Regions from separate parts of the Homo sapiens genome. Here region 2 is linked to region 1. The links are contacts of gene promoters, found by promoter capture Hi-C in blood cells and fetal thymus (Javierre and others, 2016). All regions are on one chromosome and are shown on one strand. The core of a region is centred on a gene start or on the middle of the fragment in contact, and the rest is flanking DNA. Distances in the headings are between cores, read along the strand shown.

The links. The method cuts DNA at HindIII sites, captures the fragments that hold promoters and counts their contacts. A CHiCAGO score of 5 or more calls a contact.
Region 2: a fragment that was not itself captured here is called in contact with the fragment with the promoter of TENT5B in region 1 in 2 of 17 cell types (M0 macrophages and endothelial precursors); the score reaches 7.9 in M0 macrophages.

What each region holds. Positions count from the first base shown.
Region 1 is chr1:27,010,083-27,017,456 of GRCh38, forward strand. TENT5B (terminal nucleotidyltransferase 5B) reads right to left here and starts at 2,768. Exons shown (of 2, transcript NM_052943.4): 1 at 2,325-2,768. The coding sequence starts at 2,588. RefSeq lists enhancers at 2,014-2,667, 2,668-3,322. The HindIII fragment of the contact is 29,862 bases long and covers 1-7,374 here.
Region 2 is chr1:27,289,358-27,296,731 of GRCh38, forward strand. It overlaps WDTC1 (WD and tetratricopeptide repeats 1), which reads left to right. Exons shown (of 16, transcript NM_001276252.2): 7 at 2,858-3,040; 8 at 4,665-4,759; 9 at 5,157-5,272; 10 at 6,969-7,044. Among named protein-coding and RNA genes, the nearest start is that of TMEM222, 29 kb to the right of the region's middle. RefSeq lists an enhancer at 1-868. The HindIII fragment of the contact is 2,749 bases long and covers 2,423-5,171 here.

The sequences.
Region 1 (7,374 bases), core at 1,518-4,017:
CACATGCTCTGCCGCCTGATGCAGGCCCTCTGGCTGCAGCTGGAGAAATCAGATTGTCTAGTTCAATCCTCTGGGCCCAGAGAAGGCAAAGGACTTGTCCAAGGTTACACAACCAATAAAAGGCCTCCCTGCCTGTAGCTCTGGGAAGGCTCCTTACAGTAGGGTGAGTCCCTTTAGTACAGGTACAAGCAAGAACAGAATCTCTAGCCACTCAGATTGCCACTACAGGCAAAGCCTTGCAGGGGGGTAGAGGGAGAAAGGTTCCAATTTTTGAGCCATAGGACAACTCAGCAGCAGTGAAAAGCCCCAAGGCAACAACCGACACCACCCTCCCCCTCTCCCCGCCCCCATCCCTGCACACATCCCAACAGCTTTAGAAGCTGCCAGCTGTGGATTTCTTCCAAGAAACTTTCTTCGCTGTGGAGGCAGCTGTACAGACCAGGTGAAGGCACCTGTCCCCTTTGGAGTCTGGAACCAGAGAGGGTGTTGGAGAGCAGCAGCCTAATCTATCCATCCCAGTTGAACAGATGGGGACACTGAGCCCAGCAAAGAGAATTGACAACAAACAGTCCAGGGCCTGAATCCAGAAGTCCAACTTCCCAGCCCAGCTCTGAAGTCTCTGCTGCCCTTCCTCACCATCGCCGACAGCTCCCTGTTCTGTGCTATCTCTGACCCAGGTCTAGAAGGACATGGCACCACCATTGCATTGTAAAGTTAGCTTCTATTGACCTGGAGTCTCCCCCATCTGGCTAGGAGCACCTGAAGGGATGGAGGCTGAGTCCTAGTCACATCTGTGCCCTTGGTTTCCTAAACAGGGCTTGGCACAGAGCAGACACCAAGAGGCAATCTGAGCCATACTGACAGGGCAAGGACTTCTCCTCCTTCCAGGGTATCCCTTGTTCTTGCAGAGGGGGGCTGCCACACTGGGCTCCACCTTCCCCTCCCTGCCATGCCTGGGGCCACAATCCTGGAGGTGCAGCAGCTGGGGCCCCAGGAATGACTTGACTGTCCCGGGGATTAAAGCCTCGACTGGTTTCCTAATCACCCAGGTGACAGCGAGCAGCCGAGGAATGCCTCGGCGAACTCCACTGGGCCGCGTGTGAGTCAGCCAAGGAGAATCTGCCCCCGCCCCCTCCAGTTCCTAGTTCCTTGGGAGGGTGGGGGAGGTAATCCCCCAGCAGGCAACCCTCCCCCTCTGTGGGAAGCCAAGGTAGTAGGAGGCAGGGGAAAGGCCTACTTCATCCAAAGGAAGCCATCAGTTGGCAGGAACGCACAGGAGTCCTCGCTGGGTTTCTTGGTTTCTTTTATCAAAGGACCCTCCCTAACACCTAGAAGTTGACCTTGGGAGCCGGGGAAGGGGTGGGAAAACATTGAACCTACTGTAATCTGCTCCTGGGAAGACCCAAAATTCCCTAGGTTTGATTTTCACCTCATTAAGTAATCTTGGGTGGCAAACTGCCCCAGCTATAAAATGGGTACAATAATGACCACACTGTGGTATTTCAGAACATGACAGCGTCTGGGCTGTACAGATGAAAAAGCAGTCTTGGGGTCGTTGAGGTTCAGATAAAGGGAAGAGTTGGAGGAGGGAGGGGCTGTCAGAATTCTCTTCTCCCTTTCCTCAGGAGAGAGAGGACGTGGGGCCTGAGGCCTGGGTTGGCCTTCATTTCCAATCTTGGGAAGGAGAAGAAACACCTAAATTGGTCACTTAATGTTGCCCTTGGGGGTGGGGTATCAGGTCTGACCTTCGGCTTAATAAATATTGGGCCACAACCCCAGCTGAGAGAGAGGGAGTCCCTGACAAGTTTTCTTGGCTTTTCCACGGGGTGGAGGGGGAAGGGGGGGTTTCTCCAGCAAAAGGCTGTAGGAGCACAATGGCAGAGGCTGCTCCTAGAACCTCGAGAGAGGAAAGGAGGGTGAGGTCCAGGGATGCCCAGATAGGGAAGGAAAAGCTATTTTGGACTCAAGCATGCACACTTACCCACCCAGGGCCACCTGGCGTCTTTTGTCCTTGCAGGCAGAGACAAATTCTTCCCCCAATGCCCTTGACATCCTCCTCCCCTCTCCCAGCCAGGCCCTGGGTGAGTGATCCGTGGGGAATCAGGGTTCTCCAAGAGTCGAGATGGAAAAGCCAGGTGGGGAAGGATTAGTAGATGCAGGGGGAGGTCTGGTCTACCATTCATAATGCTGTGCAATTGTTACAGCCATGTCCCCGTTCCTCAGTTTCCCTAGCTGTCTAGAAAGTCAAACAGACTACAAATGCCTTCCAGCCACGAGAGCCTCAGAAGGGATTCCCCCACATCCCCCGCCTGGCGTCCTCTCACCTGCACGATCTGCCGGGGCTGCACGCTCAGCGTGGGGAAGTTGCCGCGCCCGTGAATGGGAATCGGCTCGCTCAGAAGAGCGTCCAGTCGCTTCACCTGTGGCCAGCTCAGCCCACTCAGGTGCCGTCCGGGGAAGGCCGATAAGGCCTCCGGGTCGGGGCCGCCGCCTGCCGGGGCTGCCGTGGCCACCGCCGTGGCCGCAGCCGTCCCCACCTGAGCAGCCGCCCGGTCCCTGCGCTCAGCTCCGCTCTCCGACGGCATCATCCGCCCGGCCCCCGGGCCCCGACGGCAGAAACCGTGGGGGTGGTTAAGGGGAGGAGGACAGGGAGAGCGGCTGGGCAGGGGCCAAGGCGGGGGGCACGAAGGCAGGGACGGGGCGGCAACGACGGCGAGACAAAGCCAGGGAACACCTCAGACGGCGACGACTAACCGACCCTAGCGCCTGCAGCCCGCGGCCCAGCGGACTCTTATAGGCCGCGGGCGACGTGCCCATTGGTCCGGGCCGCTGCCAACAGCGAGAGCCGCCCCGCCTCTGAACGCTCCGGACACTGGTCTGTAGAGCTTTGCACGTGAGTCACTGTTCTCTAGGGAGATTCCGATTGGCTAGAGGGCACGCCCCTGCCCCGCCCTCCTTCTCAGGCTGAATTCCCTCCTTTGGTCCTTAAAGAACTTCTGTTCACTGTGATTGGCCCGGGCCTGGACTTAAAGGGACAGCGCCCACCCCGCCCCGCCAGGGTCAGGAGGGAGGGAAGTGACCTGCGGAGTTTGTAGCAGAGTCAGACCACTGAGAAATTCCAGGTTTCTGTTTTTTTTTTTTAGCGCTGGAAGAAATTGAGAAGTCACCTAGCCTTGTCCTGCTATTTTCAGAAGCCCAAAGAGATTGAGCCACGTGATCAACTCTGCACAGCACTGCTCATGCTCTGGCAGTTTTCCAGAGCCTAGGAAAGGTATAATAAACAACTCTGGGCCCGGCGCGGTGGCTCACGCCTGTAATCCCAGCACTTTGGGAGGCCGAGGTGGGCGGATGACAAGGTCAGGAGATCGAGACCATCCTGGCTAACACGGTGAAACCCCGTCTTTACTAAAAATACAAAAAATTAGCCGGGTGTGTGGCGGGCGCCTGTAGTCCCAGCTACTCGGGAGGCTGAGGCAGGAGAATGGCGTGAACCCGGGAGGCGGAGCTTGCAGTGAGCCGAGATTGCGCCACTGCACCCCAGCCTGGGCGACAGAGCGAGACTCCGCCTCAAAAAAAAAAAAATTAATAATAATAATAAACTCTGCATACCAAGGTAAAGGCCTTTTTTTTTTTTTTTTTTTTTTTTTTTCTCGAGACAGAGTCTCGCTTTGTCACCCAGGCTGGAGTGTAGTGGCGCGATCTTGGCTTACCGCAAGCTCCGCCTCCCGGGTTCAAGCAATTCTCCTGCCTCAGCCTCCCGATTAGCTGGGATTACAGGCATGCGCCACCAAGCCCGGCTAATTTTTTTGTGTTTTTAGTAGACACGGGGGTTTCACCATATTGGCCAGGCTGGTCTTGAACTCCTGACCTTGTGATCCACCCACCTCGACCCCCAAAGTGCTGGGATTACAGGCGTGAGCCACTGTGCCCGGCCCTAAAGTAAAGGCTTTCTAAGACACTGTTGATTGGCCTCGCAAACCACAGCATGATGAGCGTTGATGTACAGCATAGCCAATTTAGGGAAGGAGAGATCTGCTCAGAGAGGCTTTGTGATTACCCGACTGTCACACAGCAAACTAGTAAGGCCCTGGTCCTCAACCAGGGCTATAGAATCTGTGGTGCATGTTTTTTCCACTGTACCTATGCAGACCCAGCTCCTTTCTGGAGCTAGAGAACGAATAATGTGTTTACATGTTTTTCTGCAGGTCTAGACAAAACATAATTTAAAAAAAATATGTTTACATGTTTTGCTCTCACACTTTACAGGACCTAGGGGATGAGGCTTATGATTGTCGTTACTTTTATTTTTTATTTTTATCTATTTATTTATTTTTTGAGAGAGGGTCTCACTCTGTTGCCTGGACTGGAGTTGACTGTCATGATCATGGCTCACCACAGCCTCAACCACCCTGGCTCAAGCAATCCTCCCAATCCCAGCCTCCTGAGTAGCTAGGACTACAGGCACACGCCACAGCACCCAGCTAATTTTTCTGTTTTTTTTTTTTTTTTTGTAGAGATAAGGGTCTGGCCATGTTGCCCAGGCTGGTCTTGAACTCCTGGGCTCAAGTGATCTGCCCACTTCAGCCTCCTGAAGTGCAGGGATTACAGGTGTCAACTACTGTGCCTGGCCTGTTATTACTTTTATTTTTCCCCAACCTCACCTGTTGCTTTTAATTTTTTTTTCTGATTTTAAACATGTGCTGTAGCAAAAATTCAGAAATTGAGTCTATCTGATTCATTGCTGCAATTTTTTTTCTTAAATATTGTTCTCCTGACCAGGCACGGTGGCTCACGCCTGTAATCCCAGCACTTTGGGAGGCTGAGGCAGGCAGATCACCTGAGGTCAAGAGTTTGAGACCAGCCTGGCTAACATGGTGAAACCCCATTTCTACTAAAAATACAAAAAATTAGCTGGGCGTGGTGGTAGGCACCTGTAGCACCTGTATTCCCAACTACTCGGGAGGCTGAGGCAGGAGAATCGCTTGAACCTGGGAGGCGGAGATTGCAGTGAGCCGAGATCTGTGCCATTGCACTCCAGCCTAGGCAACAATAGTTATACTCTCTCTCTCTCAAAAAAAAGTTCTCCTAACAATATATTAAATTAAATTTCATTCTCGTAATATTCTCCCATTCGCCTGTCAGGCAGGTTGGGAAGGAGTAATACACCAAATTTACAGGAGAAATCATGACCTAGAAACAGTAAACTACATCCCAATGCCATCAGGTTGACTCTGACAGACCTGGAACTAAAACCCAGGAGCCTGACTCTCACAACAGAGCAGCCACTTCCTCTTTCTGGAGGCGAGCCCAGGCAAGAGGCTGCCCATCTCGCTTCACTCCATCTTGTCTAGGATCAGGGGCTTCCTCTGGCCCTCAGGGAGGGGACACACTACTTGTGCTACTGCTTGACCACGTGACCTTGGGGAAGTCCCTTTCATCATCCTCAAGGCAAGTGCCTGCTTTGTTTTACCTTTTCTTGAAAGCTAAGAAATGGAGGGGACCAGTGGTTCATGCCTGTAAGACCAGGGAGACCTCATCTCTACATAAAAACATAGGGAGACCTCATCTCTATATAAAAATTTTAAAAAGGCCAGGTGCGGTTGTTCACTCCTGTAATCTCACCACTTTGGGAGGCTGAAGCAGGCGGATCATAAGGTCAGGAGTTCAAGACCAGCCTGACCAATATGGTGAAACCCTGTCTCTACTAAAAATACAAAAAATTAGCCGGGTGTGGTGGCACGTGCCTGTAGTCCCAGCTACTTGGGAGGCTGAGGCAGGAGAATTGCTTGAACCCAGGAGGCGGAAGTTCCAGTAAGCTGAGATCGTGCCACTGCACTCCAGCCTGGGCGACAGAGCAAGACTCCATCTCAAAATAAATAAATAAATAAAAATAAATTAAAAAAAAAAAGATAGCAGCCGGAAGTGGTAGCTCATGCCTGTAATCCCCGCACTTTGGGAGGCTGAGGTGGGAAAGTCATCTGAGACCAGGAGTTTGAGACCAGCCTTCATAGCGAGACCTCATCTCTACAAAAATTAAAAGAAAGTAGCCTGGCATGGTGGCACGTGCCTGTGGTCCCAGCTAGTTGGGAGGCTGAAGTGGGAGAATCGCTTGAGGTGGGGAGGTCAAGCCTGCAGTGAGCCATGTTTACACCACTGCACTCCAGCCTGGGTGACAAAAAGAGACCCTGTCTCAGAAAAGAAAAGAAATAGATAGAAATCGCCTTTGGCTGAGTCCAGAGTCTCCAAACCCTTGAACTACCAAGTCTCTCTGAGGCTACTGATGAAAGAGCTTGAGGCTCAGCCACAGCACTGTCTCTTACCCCCACCTCCATACCCCAGCAGAGGAAGGAGGTGTGGGGAAAGGAAACTAACATTTACTGAACACCTACTATGCACTAGATTATTTTACATACATAAGCTCTAATTCCTAAAGATACACCGCAAGATGTGGGATCATTATCCCCAATTTACAGATGAAGACACTGAGGTTTAGAGAGGTTAAGTGATATGCCCAAGGTTATACAGTCACTAATTGGCAGTTTGGAACTCAAATCCAGGTCTCCTGACCCCAGAGCCCTATTGTTCAACTGCTCCTCTAAGAAGACTCAGCACAGATCAGTCATGCTTGGCACAGTCCTGGCACCACCCACAAGATCTATACATTCATTCATTCATCAGCCAACATACATACTGAGCACCTATCTGTGTACCAGGTGCTGGGCTGGGCCCTGAGAAATAATAGGCAAGGTCCCTGCCCTTCTAGAACTTTTTTCTTTTTTTGAGACAGAGCCTCACTGTGTTGCCAGGCTGGAGCACAGTGGCACAATCTCAGCTCACTGCAACCTCCACCTCCCAGGTTCAAATGATTCTCCTGCCTCAGCCTCCCAAGTACCTGGGATTACAGGCCCACACCTGGCTAATTTTTGTATTTTTAGTAAAGGGTTTCACCATGTTGTCCAGGCTGGTTTCGAACTCCCGATCTCAAGAGATCTGCCCACCTTGGCCTCCCAAAGTGCTGGGATTACAGGCATGAGATACCATGCCCGGCCCTTCTAGAACTTTCGTTCTTTCTCCCTTTCTTTGTTTTAGAGATTGGATTTCACCATGTTGCCCCAGCTAGTCTAACTCCTGACCTCAAGTGATCCACCTGCCACAGCCTCCCAAAGTGCTAGGATTACAGGTGTGAGCCACCGCTCTCAGCCCTAGAACTTTCTAATGTCGAAAGACAGCAGTCAAGTAAACAAATAAAGAAGACATTTCTGATAGTGCTAAAAAGAAAATAAAACAGGGTCATGGGAGAGAGAACAACCGTGCATATGTGAGTGTGAGATAGAGATACAGCAAGAGCGAGAACTAGAGATATCATGAGATGAT
Region 2 (7,374 bases), core at 2,547-5,046, 280 kb after region 1:
CAGAGACGCTCTTCACCTCCCAGACGGGGTCGCGGCCGGGCAGAGGCGCTCCTCACATCTCAGACGATGGGCGGCCGGGCAGAGACGCTCCTCACTTCCTAGATGGGATGGCGGCCGGGCAGAGACGCTCCTCACTTTCCAGACTGGGCAGCCAGGCAGAGGGGCTCCTCACATCCCAGACGATGGGCGGCCAGGCAGAGACGCTCCTCACTTCCCAGACGGGATGGCGGCCAGGCAGAGGCTGCAATCTCGGCACTTTGGGAGGCCAAGGCAGGCGGCTGGGAGGTGGAGGTTGTAGCAAGCCGAGATCACGCCACTGCACTCCAGCCTGGGCACCATTGAGCACTGAGTGAACGAGACTCCGTCTGCAATCCCGGCACCTCGGGAGGCCGAGGCTGGCGGATCACTCGCGGTTAGGAGCTGGAGACCGGCCCGGCCAACACAGCGAAACCCCGTCTCCACCAAAAAAATACGAAAACCAGTCAGGCGTGGCGGCACGCGCCTGCAATCGCAGGCACTCGGCAGGCTGAGGCAGGAGAATCAGGCAGGGAGATTGCAGTGAGCCGAGATGGCAGCAGTACAGTCCAGCTTCGGCTCGGCATCAGAGAGAGACCGTGGAAAGAGAGGGAGAGGGAGACCGTGGAAAGAGAGGGAGAGGGAGACCGTGGGGAGAGGGAGAGGGAGACCGTGGGGAGGGGGAGGGGGAGAGGGAGAGGGAGCTAATTAATTTATTTTCTGAGACAGGGTCTCACTCCATTCTATTGCCGAGGTTGGAGTGCAGTGGCGTGATCATGGCTCACTGCAGCCTTGACTTCCTGGGCTCAGGCGATTCTCCCACCTCAGCCTCCTGAATACCTGGGACTACAGACACGCTCCACCATGCTTGGCTAATTTTTCTATTTTTTTTGTAGAGATGGGGTTTCTCTGTGTTGCCCAGGCAGGTCTCAAACTCCTGGGCTCAAGTGATCCTCCCACCTCGGCCTCCCACAGTGCTATGATTGCTGGTGTGAGCTACCACACCTGGCCTTATTTTATTTTTACTTATTGGTTTACTTTTTTGTCTGTATCCTCACTAAATAGTAAAAGTAAACTCTCTTAGAGCAACTCCATGTCTGTCTTGTTCTTGGTTGTATCCCTAGAGCCCAGCACAGCGCCTGGCACATAGAGCCGCTTGATACATTTCTCTTGAACAGTTGGTCAGTGGCTATATACCTGGGAGGGGGCAAGCCACCCGGAAATGGTAAAATGGACTGTCCCCTTTTCCAGTGCCCTGCATTGTTACACATTTGCCTCTACTTCCCTTCATTCTAAAATGGTGTCGTTGCCCTTCTTTAACTCCTTTCTTCAGCTGTGACCTTAGAACTTCTTTCTTATCTCCCCAGCCTGCTTTAATCTGTCTCCCTTGAGTTCCTGTAGGACTTTGTGCCCTCTTTCCTTTTACAGATGAGGAATATCTAAGTCATATATAAATTATAACATAGTCAAGAGCAAGGCAGTGAAGTCAGACAGACCTGGGGTCAAATCCTAGCAATCGCACTCAGTATTTGACTGGGGTAAGTCACTGCATCCCTGAACCTCAGAAGACAGAATGCACTTTGTCAGTGGCAGGTCCAACTCTGTGTAGCACTTTTTGACCTTGGCTGACCAGATTTTGCCAGGGCCAGCTGGTAGAAGCGGAGCGTCTAGCGCATTGGGTAGGATCCTAAGTGTTTAGGCATAGGCACAGTCAGAGAAGGTGTCCTAGCAGAAGGTGAACATAAGCTGGGCCTTCCAGAACAGACAGGATTTGGATGAGCAAGGAAAAGCAGAGTGTATTCCCCAGCTTGAGCAGAGTTTGCAAAGGCAGAAATAAACATGGCATGTGCAGGATAAAGAATTCTGTAGTTATAATTGACCCACATTTAGAAAACTGAGGAATAAGGTTGGAGAGAAATGTGAAATTGAGTCTTGAAAACCAGACTGAGGAGTTTGGTAAAAGTAAACTTGTGCTAAAAGTATTGAGGAATCTCTGCAATTTTTTTGAGCAGGAGAGTGATGTAAAATAATATTTTAGGAAGAGCAGCCTGGTGAAGATGGCTTAGAAAGACAAGGTGAACAGCAAAGAGGTGATAACAGATGTCTAGGCAAGAGGGGAGAGCATATAGGTGATGTCCCCCCTACCCACCACTCTCTGAGGATACCTGTGTATTGGCAGCACAAAGTTTCCCCGTCTGGAGCGGTGGGAGTTTGCTGCTGTTTGGTAGACTTTTTGGCATTACCTTTACTGCGTGGATGAGACTTTTAGGCTTGCCTTGGCCCATGGTATATCTAGATAGCTCTTAGATGATCTGCAGAGTCTCTTTTCTGTCACCTCCATACCTTGTTTCATGAAAGAAACTAGATTAGGTAGGAACGGAGCAGTGTTTAAGATGCAGTCTCAGAAAGCTTCCCCAGCTCTGCACTTACTAGCAGTGTCATCTCAGTCAGGTTATTCAACATCTTTGAACTTCAGTATTCTAATGATACCTAGGGATGGCGTTAGGAATTAATTAAGGGGCAATACTGGACATAAAGCACATTTTCACTAAGTGTTGGTAATCAGTAGTAGTATAATAGTAGCAATAATACTAACATCTGTAGAATATGTACAATAGTATCCACCTTAGGAGTTCTAGTAGAATAGAATGTGTGAGAAGCCTACTACAGGTACCTGGCACACTGTGGACACTCAAGAAATGGGAGTTGTTTTTGACATTCTTATTTAGAAACAGGTCCAAAGTCCCTCCCAATCCTCTTGCATAACAAGAACTTATCTTTTCCCCTGCCTTCCTCTCAAGGACCCCAAGCCCCAATTCCCTAACTCTGTCCTCTCTCACAGCCAGTATGACCTTCGAGAGAACAGCAAACACTCGGAGGTGCTGATTGACCTGACAGAGTACTGTGGCCAGCTGGTGGAGGCCAAGTGCCTCACTGTCAACCCCCAGGACAACAACTGCCTGGCAGTTGGGGCCAGCGGGCCCTTCGTGAGGCTCTATGACATCCGCATGATCCATAACCACAGGTATGAATAGTTCAGCCTCCTGTCTCCTGTGAGTAAGTCCCCAGAGAACCTACTGCCCCTTTCCCTCACTGCCATTGCCATGCCCTCTTCTTCTATCACAGCTCACTGCAGCCTCAACCTCCCAGGCTCAAGCGATCCTCCCATCTCAGCCTCTCAAGTAGCTGAGACTACAGTCACACGCCACCTCGCTTGGCTAATTTTTTAATTTTTTTATAGGGGCGGGGTCTTTCCTTGTTGCCCAGGCTGGTCTCAAACTCGAGCTAAAGCAATCTTTCCACCTCGACCTCCCAAAGTGCTGGGACTACAAGCATGAGCCACTGTGCCTGGCCCCTTCTTTTATTTATTTATTTATTGTTTTACTTTTTTTTTTTTTTTTTTTTTTGAGACAGAGTCTTGCTCTGTCACCCGTGTTGGAGCGCAGTGGCACAATCTCAGCTCACTGCAACCTCTGCCTCCCGGGTTCAAGCTGTTGTCCTGCCGAGTAGCTGGGATTACAGGCACCTGCCACCACACCTGGCTAATTTTTGTATTATTAGTAGAGACGGGGTTTCACCATGTTGACCAGGCTAGTCTTGAACTCCTGACCTCAGGTGATCTGCCCGCCTCGGCCTCCCAAAGTGTTGGGATTACAGACGTCAGCCACCACACCCAGCCTGGCCCCTTCTTCTTTATGAAATGGACTTTCTTCAATTTTGTGATTTTTTAAAAAACTTAATCCTCGCTTATGTTGGAAAATATGAAAAGTATAAATTAGGCCGGGCGTGGTGGCTCACGCCTGTAATCCCAGCACTTTGGGAGGCCGAGGCAGGCGGATCACGAGGTCAGGAGATCGAGACCATCCTGGCTAACACGGTGAAACCCCGTCTCTACTAAAAATACAAAAAATTAGCCGGGCGTGGTGGCGGGTGCCTGTAGTCCCAGCTACTGGGGAGGCTGAGGCAGGAGAATGGCGTCAACCTGGGAGGCGGAGCTTGCAGTGAGCAGAGATCCTGCCACTGCACTCCAGCCTGGGTGGCAGAGTGAGACTCAGTCTCAATTAAAAAAAAAAAAAAAAAAGTATAAATTACCCATAATCTCTTACATAAATTCCTTATGATTTCCTTATATTTATTTATTCTTATAATTTCTTATATAAATCTCTTATAGTGTCTTTCTTAAAGAAATCACTGTATATAATATTTCCTGCTAGTTCTTATAACACTCAGAACCCCCACAGCACTCTCAGACCTGAGTTGCCTCTCCAGCCTGGGCTTTCCATGATTCTTGGGATGGATGCAGGAATGTCGCCTGTTTATTTTCATTCATGGGCTTGGTGACCACTGCTGCCCCTCACACACTGCATGGCTTGGAGCGGGTCTTGAACCTTAGCTTGCTTGTTTGTAAAATGGGAAAAATAAGATGGTCATGAAGACCCAGACAGCTTATAGGACCTACCTGGTAAAGCACTGTAATGTATATGTCTGTAATTGTCTAGTTGGTGGGCCTTTGGGGTTGCTTAGGTAAGGAGGAAAAATACCTCCTGTATGTCTCAGATACAAATGTAAGTTTTCGTCTAGTGAGTGTGGTCTGGTCTAGCCAGGGGCAGTGCTGTAACTTTAACCTATATGATTTTCCTTCCCACCAGAAAGAGCATGAAGCAGAGCCCTTCAGCGGGTGTGCACACCTTCTGTGACCGGCAGAAACCCCTTCCGGACGGTGCAGCCCAGTATTACGTAGCAGGTAGCGCTCAGCACAGCTCTGGCCCCAAACTCTCGGCTAGATGCTGACTCTTTTGGGGGCAGTCCAGGGAGACAGCATGGCATGGTGGTCAAGAGCAAGGGTTTTAGAGTCAGACAGACCTGAGTTTTAATCCCAACTCTGCCATTGACAAGCTATGTCACCTTCAGCAAATTACAGAAAAGAAACTCATCAAGGTTAAGTAAAATGGGGTTATAATGACTAAATGAGATAAAATATATAAAGCAACTAGCCCAGTGCATATAGTAAGGGCTCAACACTTGTAGCTGCTTTTATGCTAAAGTTGATTGGTATAATTTTTGATATGACTGACTTCACACAATCTCATGCCCCTTTGAAAGGGACTGGGACCCTAGTATGACTGGGCTATTCCCTGCAGGTCACCTGCCAGTGAAGCTTCCTGACTACAACAACCGTTTGAGAGTGCTGGTTGCCACCTATGTGACCTTCAGCCCCAATGGCACAGAGCTACTAGTCAACATGGGGGGGGAACAGGTATGTACAGCATAAGGTGGTTCTGCCCCATCACCATTCCATGCCCAGCAGCCAGGGGCATGTACCTTATGTTCACTGCTGAGGCAGACAAGACACAACAGCCTTATGGTAAATGATGTTACATTGAAATGTGGGGGTGATGTGGCATCATTGGAGTTCCCAGAGAGATGTCCTAGCTCAGTCTTTTTATTTCATTTTTTCTTAATGAACTAGATAGAAATATGATAGTATGGCATTTTGGTTAAGAATATAGGCTTTGGAATGGACAGACTTCTGTTCAAATGCTGGCCTGCTGTTCAGCAGCTGTTTACTGTGACTTTGAGCAAGTCTCTTTATTTTTCTGAGCCTCAGTTTCCTCGTCTGCTATTTTCCTAGGAGGAAATCCCTGGGGCTCAGAGCATGCAGCTCAGAGCAAGCTGTGGGTTAGTGCCAGCTTTGGGAAGTGTTCTTTGATAATGGCAGGTTGCTAAACCTTCTGTTTGTGTGCTCTCAGGATATTTAGTAAGCCTTGCATACATTTATTTACTCTACCAACACTGAGCACTTACTCTGGGACTCGCATTATTATAAATATAATAGAGACAAGTGGGAAATATGATCCATCCCCAGGCTGATGGGAGACATGACAAACGAAACAGTTAATGACATTACAAGGCAAGGCCCAAATATATACAAATGAAGCGGGATGCAGAATAGGTGAGGATAAGCCAGACATTCCTGGACCTGTCCAAGGAATCATGAAAAGCTCAGGAGTAGTGCTAGGGTAAACATTTGGCTTTGTGACCTTTGAGGACTTCTTCATCTTTTTAAACATGTGACGTGTTTTTTGTTTTTTTTTTTTGAGTTGGAGTTTCGCTCTTGTTGCCCAGGCTGGAGGGCAATGGTGCGATCTCGGCTCACTGCAACCTCCGCTCTGCCTCCTGGATTTAAGCAATTCTCCTGCCTCAGCCTTCCAAGTAGCTGGGATTACAGGCACATGCCACGCCTGGCTAATTTTGTATTTTTAGTAGAGATGGGGTTTCACGATGTTGGTCAGGCTAGTCTCGAACTCCTGACCTCAGGTGATCCGCCCACCTCACCCTCCCAAATGCTGGGATTACAGGCATTAACCACTGCACCTGACCTTCTATTTTGTTTGTTTGTTTGTTTGTTTTGAGGCAGGGTCTCATTCTGTCACCCAGGCTGGAGTGCAGTGGTACAATCTCAGGTCACTGCAGCCTCGACATCCCAGGCTCAAGTGATTCCCCCACCTCAGCCTCCTGAGTAGCTGGGACCACAGGCACACGCCACCACACCTGGCTAGTTTTTGTATTTCTTGTAAAGACGGGGTTTTGCCATGTTGCCCAAGCTGGTCTCAAACTCCTGGGCTCAAGCAACCACCCTCCTGCCTCAGCCTCCTAAAGTGCTAGGATTACAGGCTACGCCACCATGCCCAGCCAAATGTGATTCTAATTAATGATAGTATTTCAAGCAGGACTTTGGGTAGATCAGATAGCCCACCCTGAATGCTAGAGCTAGGAAGATTTTCCAGCCTGAGGTTTGCTGGAAGTACCTCTTAGGATAGCTTGATTGTTCTATGCTCAACACTCACTGTGTTCCAAGACTCTAGTTCTTGAGAAACCAAGACCTGCTTACTGGTTCAACCACATCCTTACCTCACAGCTTCCATCTCTTTTTTTGCCCCCCTCAACTCTAGGTCTATTTGTTTGACTTGACTTACAAGCAGCGGCCGTACACCTTCCTCTTGCCTAGAAAATGCCACTCCTCGGGGGGTAAGTTCTCCCTTAGGGTATCTCTACTGCGGCGGTGTAGGGGAGCTTAAGTGCATGCTACACCTGCTGAGAAGCCTGCCCTTTACTCTGGACCGTGATCCTCCAAAAATAGCAGATCTCTGAAATAACCCCACCTATGCAGTAAGAAAGAGGATGACAATAGAGCAGAGATCTCTTCAAGAGCTTTGCATCACTGCCCTTTTTGCTTCCCTCTGAAAAGACAGGTTCCTTCCATGGCTTGGCTCTTGAGAACCTGAAATAGTTCCCCTCTCCTTTGTATCCTGGCCCAGTCTTCTCATTGATTTCTTCCTGGGGCCTACAGTTGATTTA